4 separate regions of the Homo sapiens genome follow, and all the other regions are linked to region 1. The links are contacts of gene promoters, found by promoter capture Hi-C in blood cells and fetal thymus (Javierre and others, 2016). All regions are on one chromosome and are shown on one strand. The core of a region is centred on a gene start or on the middle of the fragment in contact, and the rest is flanking DNA. Distances in the headings are between cores, read along the strand shown. Region 1 holds the start of KRTCAP3 (keratinocyte associated protein 3). Region 2 overlaps GPN1 (GPN-loop GTPase 1). Region 3 overlaps SLC4A1AP (solute carrier family 4 member 1 adaptor protein). Region 4 overlaps ZNF512 (zinc finger protein 512).

Region 1 (2,730 bases), core at 114-2,613:
CCACCCCACCTAATTTTTTGTATTTTTAGTAGAGACGAGGTTTCACCATGTTGTCCAAGCTGGTCTCAAACTCCTGACCTCAAGTGATCCGCCTGCCTCAGCCTCCCAAAGTGCTGGGATTACAGGTGTGAGCCTCCGCACCCGGCCGGTCAGCATCTTTTCAACACAGCCAGTCTCTGTGGAATGAACCCTTCCTGTTTGCCTTCCTTACCTGCCCCTGAAGTCCGTCCTTCCTGCAGGGCCCAACTCCACGTAGAGTGAGTGCAGCCACACAGCAGTAACCAGATAGAGCAGCCTCCCCTGCAGACATGAGCAAAGAAGGGATCCAGAGAGCCAAGGCTGTATCCTGAAAAGCAAGAAGGATGGGGAGTAGGAGGGAGTAGGGCAAGTGCAGCAAATAGGGGAAATTAAAAGGGCAGGACCAAGGCTTTGTAGACCACAAGAAGGAAGAGAATGTGCTCACATAGATTCTTGTGGGGTCAAAGGGGCAGTCAGTATGTCCCGGCCCCTCATCCAGTGGTACCAGAGGATCCAGCAGTCCTGGGTGGCAGTCAGCAATAAGGCGGCGGCCACCGTTGGCCACAGTGAGTGACACAGCAAGAAGGAGGCCCAGGGAGCAGGCAACGGACAAGAGCAGGTTCACCAGAGCTAGTGCCAGCAGGACCCAGTGCTGGCAGGGACAGGAGATCAGGGTGAGCAGCCTGGGCCTGGCTAACTCTCCCAGTGACTAGACACCCAGTTTCTCTGAGGCTCCTCCAATCTATTGAAAGACCAAGCTCAGTCAGCCCCCATTTCCCTGACTCAAGCCTACTCGTTAAAAGCTCCAGGGAAGTCCCTCTCACCAGTGGAGGGCGAAGAAGGTTCCTGGACGCCAGGAGGGCCACAAGTCCCACGGAAACGCTCTGTGGAAGACACAAAGCCTTTGGCCTGCTGGGCTCTCCGGGAGCCCGGCCCCCGCCCGGGTCGCCTGCCGCGCTCACCAGCAGCCCCGAGCCGACAGAGATGACATTGGCTACGGTGTACTCCGGCGTGACAGCGCCGCGGGGATTGGCCACGTGCCGCAGGACGGTGCCATGCAGCACGGCCCCCAGCAGCAGGTTCACGTGGCCCACCAAGATCAGCGCGAGGCCCACACGCATCAGCCGCCTGGGCCCCCGGGCGGCGTCTGCAAAGCACGGGGGAGGGCAGGGTTGAGTCGGGCGGGGAGGGGAGAGGCGGCTCGCGGCGGGTTAACCGCGGGCAGTAGGACGGGGCAAGGGTAGCCCCAGGGTAAGGAGACGAGACGCCAGGGCCCGGAAGTTACCGAAAGCGCAGAGACTGCAGCGCCTCATCCCGTCCGCCGCGCCAGCCGCAGGGCCGCTGTACCTGGGCCCGGCCCCGCCCCAACCTGGGCCCCGCCTCCGTCCCGGGTCCCCCTCCCACCTGGGCCCCGCCTCCGCCCCGGGCCCGCTCCCCCTGGCGGGAAAGGCGCGAACACACGACGCTTTTAGCAAAAAGTAGACTTTTATTACAGCAGCAACTGAGGCGAATCGAATGGCCCCCCAGGGCCACCACTGCAGCACCACCTTTCTCTCCCGCCCCGGCCGCCCCAGCGGGATTGTAGAATTCGGCTCCCCTAGTGCCCGTGGGCCTCCTTTCCACACAGGCTGGGCGGGAGCCGGCAGATCAGCGACTAGCCCCCAACTAGAAGGCGGCTGCTGAGAAGGCCCAGGCCCACGTCTGTGCAAAACAAGTAAACAAAGTGCAGAGGGGAGGAAGAGAGGGGAGGGGAAAGGATGATGCTCAGAACCAGGGAGCCCCCCCAGCCCTCCTGAATAATAAAGGAGGGAAGGGGCTTCACAGGGTAATACTGACTGGGGGGAAGGGACAGGAGGGCTGCAGCACGTCCAGGGACAGCCACAGCGCAGATCAGGGCCTGGCCCGAGTGAGCTCTAAGAGGAGACGGTGACAGCGGCTGAGTTGAGGGTACTGTTCCTGGCAAAATTGAACTTGTTCAAGGTCTCTTCTAGCAGAGAAGTCAACCGGCTCTGGTCAGCCTGGGGGAGAAGAGCTCAGTAAGATGGGGGCTGAGAGAAGAGAAGGCATGGGGGCAGCCAGGGCAGATGAAGGCAGAAACCTCACCTCACTAATGAAGCCCAGCTGCACCAGCTCAGCCGCCAACTCGGGGATATTCTCATCTGACAAAGAAACAGGAGGGGGTGAGTACAGTACGGGACTGAGGGACCTGGGGCCCTTCAGACAGCCCCACTAGGGCTAAACTGTCAGTCAGATCCACCCACTGCTTTAGGGTCTAAGATAGTCATTCTATGTGAGTCAATGTGTTACTGCCTTGTCACCTCCCCCACCCCTGAATATGTCCCTAAAAGATAAGGCTCATAGACTCTCCATCCTCTGAGGGAAAGGAGAGACTCACTTGGCATCAGGTCACAGCTCAGGTGCCGGTTCAGTTTGTCCTCCAACTTCAGCAGAAGTGTCAGCTGGAGAATAGGACAGTCAGAAAATGAGACTTTTCTTCCCTACCCTCTGGCTACTAGCCCTGCGCAACCCTAGCCCTGAGCCTTACGTGGTGTTTGACTCCCTCCTCCACCGACTCAATGTTGCACTGCATCAGCACCACCTAGGGAGGGAAGAGAGGGTCACTCTAGAGACCTGTCCATAAAAAACCCAATACCTAGACGTCTTTCGAGCCCATAGGGCATGGCTGCTAGGGAGCATTTTCTCTAAAGGATA
Region 2 (2,700 bases), core at 147-2,646, 200 kb before region 1:
CTGTCTGCTTCCTCATCCTCTTCATCCAAGGTTCCTCGAGTCAGGATCAAATCAGAAGGGTGCAGCACAGGAGATAAGCTGTCTACAGTGAAAACACCTATCAGTGATATGCCTCCTCAAAAAGGTGATCTTGAATCACTAAGTAACTATGATCATAAACTGGCAGGATGAAAGTGCTCATGATACATATAAACGCAGGATCTTACCTCTTCTAAATGTATTGTTAATACCACTTAACATTTCTATAATAGCTTAGTTCACAAAGTGCTTTCATAAGGCAAATAGCCCTAGGAGTCCCATTTTTTTAAGCTGAGGGAAATAATTTTCAAGAAGCTTGTCTTACTAGTAGCATCATTCTTTTTTACTGGCTCACAGCTTGGAAGGGGTGATGGTTTTTCCTATGAAAGCTAACAACATTTGAGCAGATCCAGTGTGCTGGTGAGTCACAGTGAAAGTGTGGAGTGCTAAGGAAGCCTCCTGGTGGAAATGTAAGTTCAGAGAAGGTCTGCAGAAAATACAGGGTGAAATGTTATCAAGGAGCCAGGGTATTATTTAAGAAGAGGAGGGAGGGGAAAAATAGAAAATCAAATACACTAATAGAAGTAAAATTCCCTATTCAGAAAAACTAGTGAGGGCTGAGCTCCAGTAATCAGAGAGAAGTCTAATCAAGTCACTACTGCCATGGGAGGACATAGTCACTCTCTCTTCAGGAGCCTATGAGGCTTGCGAGAGCTCAGCTAGGGAATAAGGGTGGCCAGAGACAGCAACATCAACTGGCACAAATCTCAAGGGGCCTGTGGGCCTGAAAAAGGAGGATGACAGGACATGCTGACAGTAAATGCTTCATTCTGTGCCTAACAATTATGCAACTATACTTGTGACTTTCCTCAAATGATTTACTTAAACTCTCCCAACCTTCAACAGGTTAGCTGACTACAGCAGACCCTTTGCAGCAGTAGTTTTAACATTGACTTCACATATTCAGAAGTGATTCTAAAGGACTGTGGCACATAGAAATGTATTTTGCTGAGCTGTACAACAGGATGGCACAAGTGAGTACACTTAACTGGTAAACCCAGTCCGTTACTAGCTTTGCTGTTCTCTACTAGATATAGAGCAATAACTTTCATGAACAGAAGCATCACTCCTTTAAGAAAGATGTCCCAGAAAAAAAAAATGCTAGTGTTGCTGATGAGAAGAAAAAATAAATGTACAATTTATTACAATAAATAAATAAATGGAGCTTTTCTTTTAAGTACAGTCAATTTGGTTGCAGGATTCCACTAAGCTGCAATAGACTTGCATCTGAATCTTGAGGGCAGTCCCTCAATATACAGGGGTGGGGGTGGAAGGTGGGCTGTAAATGAAAACTAACCTAAAAACCCCTGCAGAGCCAATGATAAAACTAAAAAAAAATTTTTAATTCAGTAAAGTAGCAGGATAAAAGATGAATATACAGAAATCAAAAGCCTTCATACATACAAACATAAACCAGTTATAAGATGTAACGGTCCAGAAAATCCCATTTTCAACAGTAATGAAGAAGGTTAAATACTTAGAATAAATTTCAAGCTGGGGCTGGGCATGGTGGCTCATGCCTGTAATCCCAGCACTTTGGGAGGCTGAAATGGGCAGATCACCTGAGGTCAGGAGTTCAAGACCAGCCTGGCCAACATGGCAAAACCCTGTCTCTACTAAAAATGCAAAAATTAGCTGGGCGTGGTGGCATGTGCCTGTAGTCCCAGCTACACAGGAGGCTGAGGCACAACAATCGCTTGAACCCGGGAGGCGGAGGTTGCAGTGAGCCGAGATCGCGCCATTGCACTCCAGCCTAGGTGACAGAGCAAGACTCTGCCTCAAAAATAAATACATACATACATAAATTTCAAGCTGGGTACAGTGGTTCACACCTGTAATCCCAGTACTTTGGGTGGCTGAGGTGGGCAGATCACTTGAGCCCAGGAGTTCGAGACCAGCCTGGGCAACACGGCAAAACCTCATCTCCACTAAAAATACAAAATTTAGCCCGGCATGGTGGCAGGCACCTCTAGTTCCAGCTACTTGGGAGGCTGAGGCAGGAGAATAGCTTGAACCCAGGAGGCAGAGGCTGCAGTGAGCCAAGATCACACCACTGCACTCCAGTTGGGGTGACAGAGCAAGACCCTGTCTCAAAACAAATACATAAAGATGATTTGTTTTAAAAAAAAAAAATTAAAAAGAAACAGGCAAAAACTCTTGGTCAAAAAGGTTGGCTAAAATAACAAAAACATTTTAAAAAGAAATAAGAAAAACCTATATATGGAAAACTGGAAACACTCCTGAAAGACACAAGTAGACCTGACAAATACAAAGACACTCTGTGGTCTTGGGTAGCAAGACTGAACATCATAGAGATGTCACTTCTCCCTAAATTAATTATGAATATAATGTAATCCCAACTAAAATACCAAAAAGCTTTTTTAAGGAACTAGATAAAGTTGATACTCAGTTCATATGGAAGAACATGTAAGGACAGCCAAATAAAAATTAGGAGGAGAATCTGATCTAGCAGATATTGAAACATAATTACATAATTAAAACAACATGGTACAGGCATAAAAGTAAGGAGTCCTTGCTCACCAAAGCAAGTTAAAAGAAAAAAAAAATGGGCTGGGGATGGTGGCTTATGCCTATGATCCCAACACCTTGGGAGGCCAAGAC
Region 3 (2,700 bases), core at 139-2,638, 230 kb before region 1:
TTTTCCAGTTGAATCGTCCACAGGTAATCTTCATTGATTTGGTGGGAATTATAGCACAGCATTAAGCTCCAATTCTCAAGAAAACAACTACTATGCTATGATAATAGTCATTTTTTTTTTAGATGGCCTTTCAGTCTTTGAATCCATCTTGTTCTATCTTTCCAATGTTGGATTTAAAATATTTTCTTTCTATTTCTTACCCATCCCACCCCACTCTCCAATAATATAAGGGTTACTAAACGATAAAGGCTCAAATTTAGAAATAGCTTAAACTTAGATGAAAGTTACTCTTTGGGTTGTTATCTATAACCATACATTAAACCTGAAATTGGCCATTTTCCAGAAAAGAACATTAATAAGAAAAGAGCATACCTCACCCTGCAGAGCCAAGTGCTATGTCCCTGTTCATCAAATTCATATTCTAATTCTTCTCCTGTGGGAGAAAGACAGACAAAACAATTTTAATAGAATCCAAAAATTACTAGTTGATACAATGATAAATGAGAACAAACGTTAAATACGAACAAGTTCCTAGCAGTGGCTCACGCCTGTAATCCTAACACTTTGGGAGGCTGAGGCGGGATGACAGCTTGAGTTAAGGAGCGCGAAACCAGTCTGTGCAACATGGCAAAACCCCATCTGTACAAAAAATACAGAAATTAGCCGGGCATGATGGTACGTGACTTTTGTCCCAGCTACTACGGGGGCTAAGGCCGGAGCATAGCTTAAACCCAGGAGGTCAAGGTTGCAGTGAGCCAAGATTGCGCCATTGCACTCCGGCCTGGGCGACAGAGTGAGACCCTGTCTCAAAAAAAGAACAAGTTCTGGCTGGGCGCGGTGGCTCACGCTTGTAATCCCAGCACTTTGGATGGCCGAGATGGGAGGATCACGAGGTCAGGAGATCGAGACCATTCTGGCTAACACAGTGAAACCCCGTCTCTACTAAAAATACAAAAAAAATTAGCCGGGCGTGGTGGCGGGCGCCTGTAGTCCCAGCTACTCGGGAGGCTGACGCAGGAGAATGGCGTGAATCCGGAAGGCGGAGCTTGCAGTGAGGCGAGATCGCACCACTGCACTCCAGCCTGGGCAACAGAGCGAGACTCCGTCTCAAAAAAAAAAAAAGAACAAGTTCCCATACCACACTGAATAATAAATTTCAATGCATTTCACTTCTCATTCCTAGGGATTATTGTCTGATAATAAAATTAGAGTAAGTCTGAGGCAGAGAAAAAAACAAACTCAGATCAAAGTAACCAATTCTCCATACATAGCTCTGTTCACTGTATAGTATGTTTCACTTTTATAAGTTGTAGACTTTAGTGGTTATTTTAACACAGTTGCCTGGTTTTTAGAAGCACAGATATTAAGTGCACAGCTATTTCATATATTATTTATATATACATATAAAATATATACAGATATACATACATATACATAGATATTCTCTCAAAGTATTCCTACCAAAACAATCCTCTATGGAAAAAAAATTTTAAATCATATAATATAAAATCAAAACCTATGTTAGGAATTACAAAAGATCAGGTGAATTCGGAATTAAAAAACTACAGGAAGTTGGCTCAATTTCCCCACCACCAAAGTCCAGGATCTTTTGAGAAGAATGAGATGAGTCAGGAAAAAGTACTTCCTTTTTTTAAGATAAGAAGAAAGACTAACAAGATTTTTATGATTTTTTTCCCCTCTGCCATACTAATGAGGAATAATTTTCAAAATAAACCTAAAGCAACTGACCACAAGAGTAAAAAGTGAACAAGAAGGACAGCAATAAAATTATAGCATATCTTAGTATAAAGCTCAACATGAAGCTCTAGAAAACCACACTGCTCTGGATATGTTTTAGTGGTAGGGTCAGAATCTGTTTACATACCTTCTCGGTCAAAAAAGCCTTGGAGAGCCTTTTTGGGATCCTTTATATAAAAGGCCTCCCTTTCCTGCTGAAACTCTAAGACAATAGGGTTCTCTTCAGCATCATCCTCTACTGCATCTTCTCCTACAGGATATGGAAAAGAAAGAAAAGATAATCAGACATGAGAAGAGACTATTTGAATGATACCCACTATTCTCTCAGGCTGCATAAAGATATAGTTTAGGCTGGGCGCAGTGGCTCATGCCTGTAATCCCAGCACTTTGGGAGGCCAAGGCAGGTGGATCACAAGGTCAGGAGTTCAAGACCAGCTTGGCCAACATGGTGAAACCCCATCTCTACTAAAAATACAAAAAAAATTAGCTGGGCACAGTGGCGGGTGTCTGTAATCCCAGCTACTTGGGAGGCTGAGGCAGGAGAATTGCTTGAACCTGGGAGGAAGAAGTTGTAGTGAGCCAAGATCGCGCTACCTGCACTCCAACCCAAGCAACACAGTGAGACCGTCTCCCAAAAAAAAAAAAATATATATATATATATAGTTTATCTGTGATGAAAAATAATAAATACTTGCAGGGACAGGGGGTGGAACAACCACCACAAAACCACTAGTATGAGCATATTCAGGTTTTCTAAATTGTGTGACAAGTCAAAACTTGTTTTCATGGCACCTTAATTTTTTTTTCTCCATCATTATATTTTAAAAGTAAAATTACCTACCACATTGTGGAAAAAAAATTTGAGCTCCTCAGCCTGGCATTCTTGTTCTCTCACACTCATATCTAACTTTCGTTCCCAATATAATTTCCTAATACTTCTTA
Region 4 (2,768 bases), core at 261-2,760, 160 kb before region 1:
CCCAAACAATTCAAAGGGCTCAGAGGTCACTGAAGGGCTCAAACTAAGGCTTCTCTTTCCTTTACCCTCAAAGAATAAAGCTCAGTCACCCAAGGAAAAAGAAGTAGCAAAGTTACTGCCTTACCATAAAGCTTATGCTTCTTCTGAGGAAATTCTCGATAGTCTTCATCTTCTTCCTGCCTGGGTTTCCTTTTCCCCTTGGCTGATACTCCACCTGACCCTGAAGTACCATACAAAAACAAAACAAAAACTCAGCACACTTTGTAAATGAACATCTAGGCCTGTCTTCAAAACATCATTCACAAGACCATCAAAAGGAAAGATCATCAGTGAACACAGGCCTCAGAGAAATGTCTGTGACATTTTTAGAGAAGTTGGTGTAACTTCTCATTAACTGACCCACTCTCCCTTTCTTTTTATATTGTTATCTATTCCAAATCATCCATTGTTCCTTATGAATAATAAGGGCATTCAAGCAATGTGTTTTGCTTAATCTTGACTTGAGGCTAACAAGAGGATAAGAATTGCTCAAGATAGAGGGCTAGCCACCAAGGACCCTTGAGATTGTGACGATCCAGAATATTCTCCCCTGAATAATCCTTACACCAGCCCCTAAATCATCAACAGAGGATCACACTAGAAGAAAAGGGGGGCCAGCCATGGTGACTCACATCTGTAATCCCAGCACTTTGAGATTACAGACTTTGGCCAAAGTGGGCGGATTACCTGAGGTCAGGAGTTCAAGACCAGCCTGACCAACATGGAGAAACCCCGTCTCTGCTAAAAATACAAAATTAGCCAGGTGTGGTGGCACATGCCTGTAATCCCAGCTACTCAGCTGGCATTACAAGCTGAGGCAGGAGAATCGCTTGAACCCAGGAGAAGGAGGGTGCGGTGAGCCTGAGCTCGAGTCATTGCACTCTAGTCTGGGCAAGAAGAGTGAAACTCCGTCTCAAAAAAAAAAGAAGAAGAAAAGGGGAATTCAAATACTACAAAGAGGAAAATCAAATGCTAAATATAATCTAGAGGAGTAAGATTAGCAGAATTTCACTCTATCACATAGCAGTTCATGAAGCTAATGGGACAGGATGCAATTGCCTAACACCTTAAATTTTTTTAAATCACTAATGAGAAACAAATATGTGGCATTTCATACTCTTTTTTTTTTTTTTTTGAGACGGAGTCTCGCTCTTTCGCCCAGGCTACAGTGCAATGGTGCGATCTCTGCTCAGTGCAACCTCTGCCTCCCAGGTTCATGCCATTCTCCTGCCTCAGCCTCCTGAGTAGCTGGGACTACAGGCGCCCACCACCAGGCCCCGCTAATTTTTTGTATTTTTAGTAGAGACGGGGTTTCACCATGTTAGCCAGGATGGTCTCGATCTCCTGACCTTGTGATCCGCCCGCCTCGACCTCCCAAAGTGCTGGGATTACAGGCGTGAGCCACCACGCTCAGCCGCCATTTAATACTTTTAAGAGGTATTTATAACAATCTCAAACTATAACTTTAGGAAGTGGCCCGTCTTCAGAATAAGACACTGATATTGATACCTTCGACATGAGAAGTAGCAGCTGGCTTGATTCTTCTCATCTTCATCCAGTAGGTAGATTTTCGGAAAGATGCTGGAAAATCACTCACTGGTTCACACGAAGATGCAGACGATGAACCACTTAAGGAGTCATCATGAGGGATAGTGTACTGGAAACTATTATCCTTTATGGAGCACTGGGTCCTGCTACTAATACAACATAAAAATATATACCACAAAGGAAGGTCTGGAGCAAAATTTCTATACATTCTTTTACATTATAACCAAGTTGGTTACCTCTGCAGAAAACTAAGAAGCCTGCTATAAAAACAGAATGTAAGTTGTAATCACCTAACAATAACAATAGTTGATCTAACACAACATGTACAATTATTATCACACTTCATTGTAATAAGAGTAAGCAGTACACATAAATGATCACTTTGCAGCCCAAGTAGACATTCCTTCCTAGATTCATCTAATAAAAGAAAGTAGGTGAAGCAATAAAGGTGTTCTATGACCCTTCAGAAGACTCCCTGGATTTGTAACCTGGTATGTCCCAGCCTCTCTCTTTCTCTGACAGAGGGATGGCAACTAAAGGGTATCTCTAAGGGAAAGGAATAGTCTGTGGGCCCTAATCTGACTCATCTTCCTTCTGCCTCAGCATTCTCCCTAAAACCTGATGCCCTATCTTATTTAGGCAACATGATACTTAGCTTCCACAGCTAAAGGATGGATGCTATCTTGCATGAATTAACCTGGCCAGAGATTTCTGGTATACAGCTGAATCCAGATTCCAAAATCTAAGACCAGTCAGTATGACAGCTAAAAAACATTACTCTGTAACTACAAAGCATCAGACATTCTTCTAGGTGGCTCAAGATGCAGCAGAGCAGCAGTTCTCCAAGAGTGGTCAATGGACTCCTAGAACCTCCCTTTTCCAGCTAAATACCTGTGAGGCCTACTTTAGATTTATGGTTCAGAAAGATCCTTCTGGCTGCTCTATGGAGACAGCCCATGGGAGAAAGAGTAAACAAAAGGAAAAAAGTTAACTTGAATTGGCAGATTCAAGGTAACACTTTAGATGTAGAGCTAATAAGAATTACACATAGAGAGGTTTGCTTATGACATCAGGGAGTTGGAAGTAACACAGTGACCATCCTTGCAAAATGTGATAGATGCCTACTATGGAATACTGTGCTGCTGTTAGAAGCAATAAACTAATTCTACACATAGAGACAC

Evidence for each region. The method cuts DNA at HindIII sites, captures the fragments that hold promoters and counts their contacts. A CHiCAGO score of 5 or more calls a contact.
Region 2: a contact is called between a fragment that was not itself captured here and the fragment with the promoter of KRTCAP3 in region 1, in 2 of 17 cell types (endothelial precursors and megakaryocytes). The highest score is 11.5, in endothelial precursors.
Region 3: a contact is called between a fragment that was not itself captured here and the fragment with the promoter of KRTCAP3 in region 1, in 2 of 17 cell types (endothelial precursors and erythroblasts). The highest score is 5.2, in endothelial precursors.
Region 4: a fragment that was not itself captured here is called in contact with the fragment with the promoter of KRTCAP3 in region 1 in 1 of 17 cell types (megakaryocytes); the score reaches 5.9 in megakaryocytes.

What each region holds. Positions count from the first base shown.
Region 1 is chr2:27,441,014-27,443,743 of GRCh38, reverse strand. It overlaps KRTCAP3 (keratinocyte associated protein 3), which reads right to left and starts at 1,363. Exons shown (of 7, transcript NM_173853.4): 1 at 1,304-1,363; 2 at 981-1,165; 3 at 843-902; 4 at 464-670; 5 at 212-346. The coding sequence starts at 1,331. NRBP1 (nuclear receptor binding protein 1) reads right to left here. Exons shown (of 18, transcript NM_013392.4): 15 at 2,564-2,617; 16 at 2,414-2,477; 17 at 2,122-2,177; 18 at 1,485-2,036. The coding sequence ends at 1,932. RefSeq lists an enhancer at 686-1,228. The HindIII fragment of the contact is 10,159 bases long and covers 1-2,730 here.
Region 2 is chr2:27,645,218-27,647,917 of GRCh38, reverse strand. GPN1 (GPN-loop GTPase 1) reads right to left here. Exons shown (of 14, transcript NM_007266.4): 13 at 1-82. It also overlaps a transcript of SUPT7L not described here. Among named protein-coding and RNA genes, the nearest start is that of SUPT7L, 17 kb to the left of the region's middle. The HindIII fragment of the contact is 2,121 bases long and covers 336-2,456 here.
Region 3 is chr2:27,666,576-27,669,275 of GRCh38, reverse strand. It overlaps SLC4A1AP (solute carrier family 4 member 1 adaptor protein), which reads right to left. Exons shown (of 14, transcript NM_018158.3): 3 at 1,886-2,008; 4 at 373-433; 5 at 1-28. Among named protein-coding and RNA genes, the nearest start is that of SLC4A1AP, 4.0 kb to the right of the region's middle. The HindIII fragment of the contact is 2,905 bases long and covers 1-2,700 here.
Region 4 is chr2:27,597,035-27,599,802 of GRCh38, reverse strand. ZNF512 (zinc finger protein 512) reads right to left here. Exons shown (of 14, transcript NM_032434.4): 3 at 1,549-1,736; 4 at 125-220. Among named protein-coding and RNA genes, the nearest start is that of ZNF512, 15 kb to the right of the region's middle. The HindIII fragment of the contact is 2,753 bases long and covers 134-2,768 here.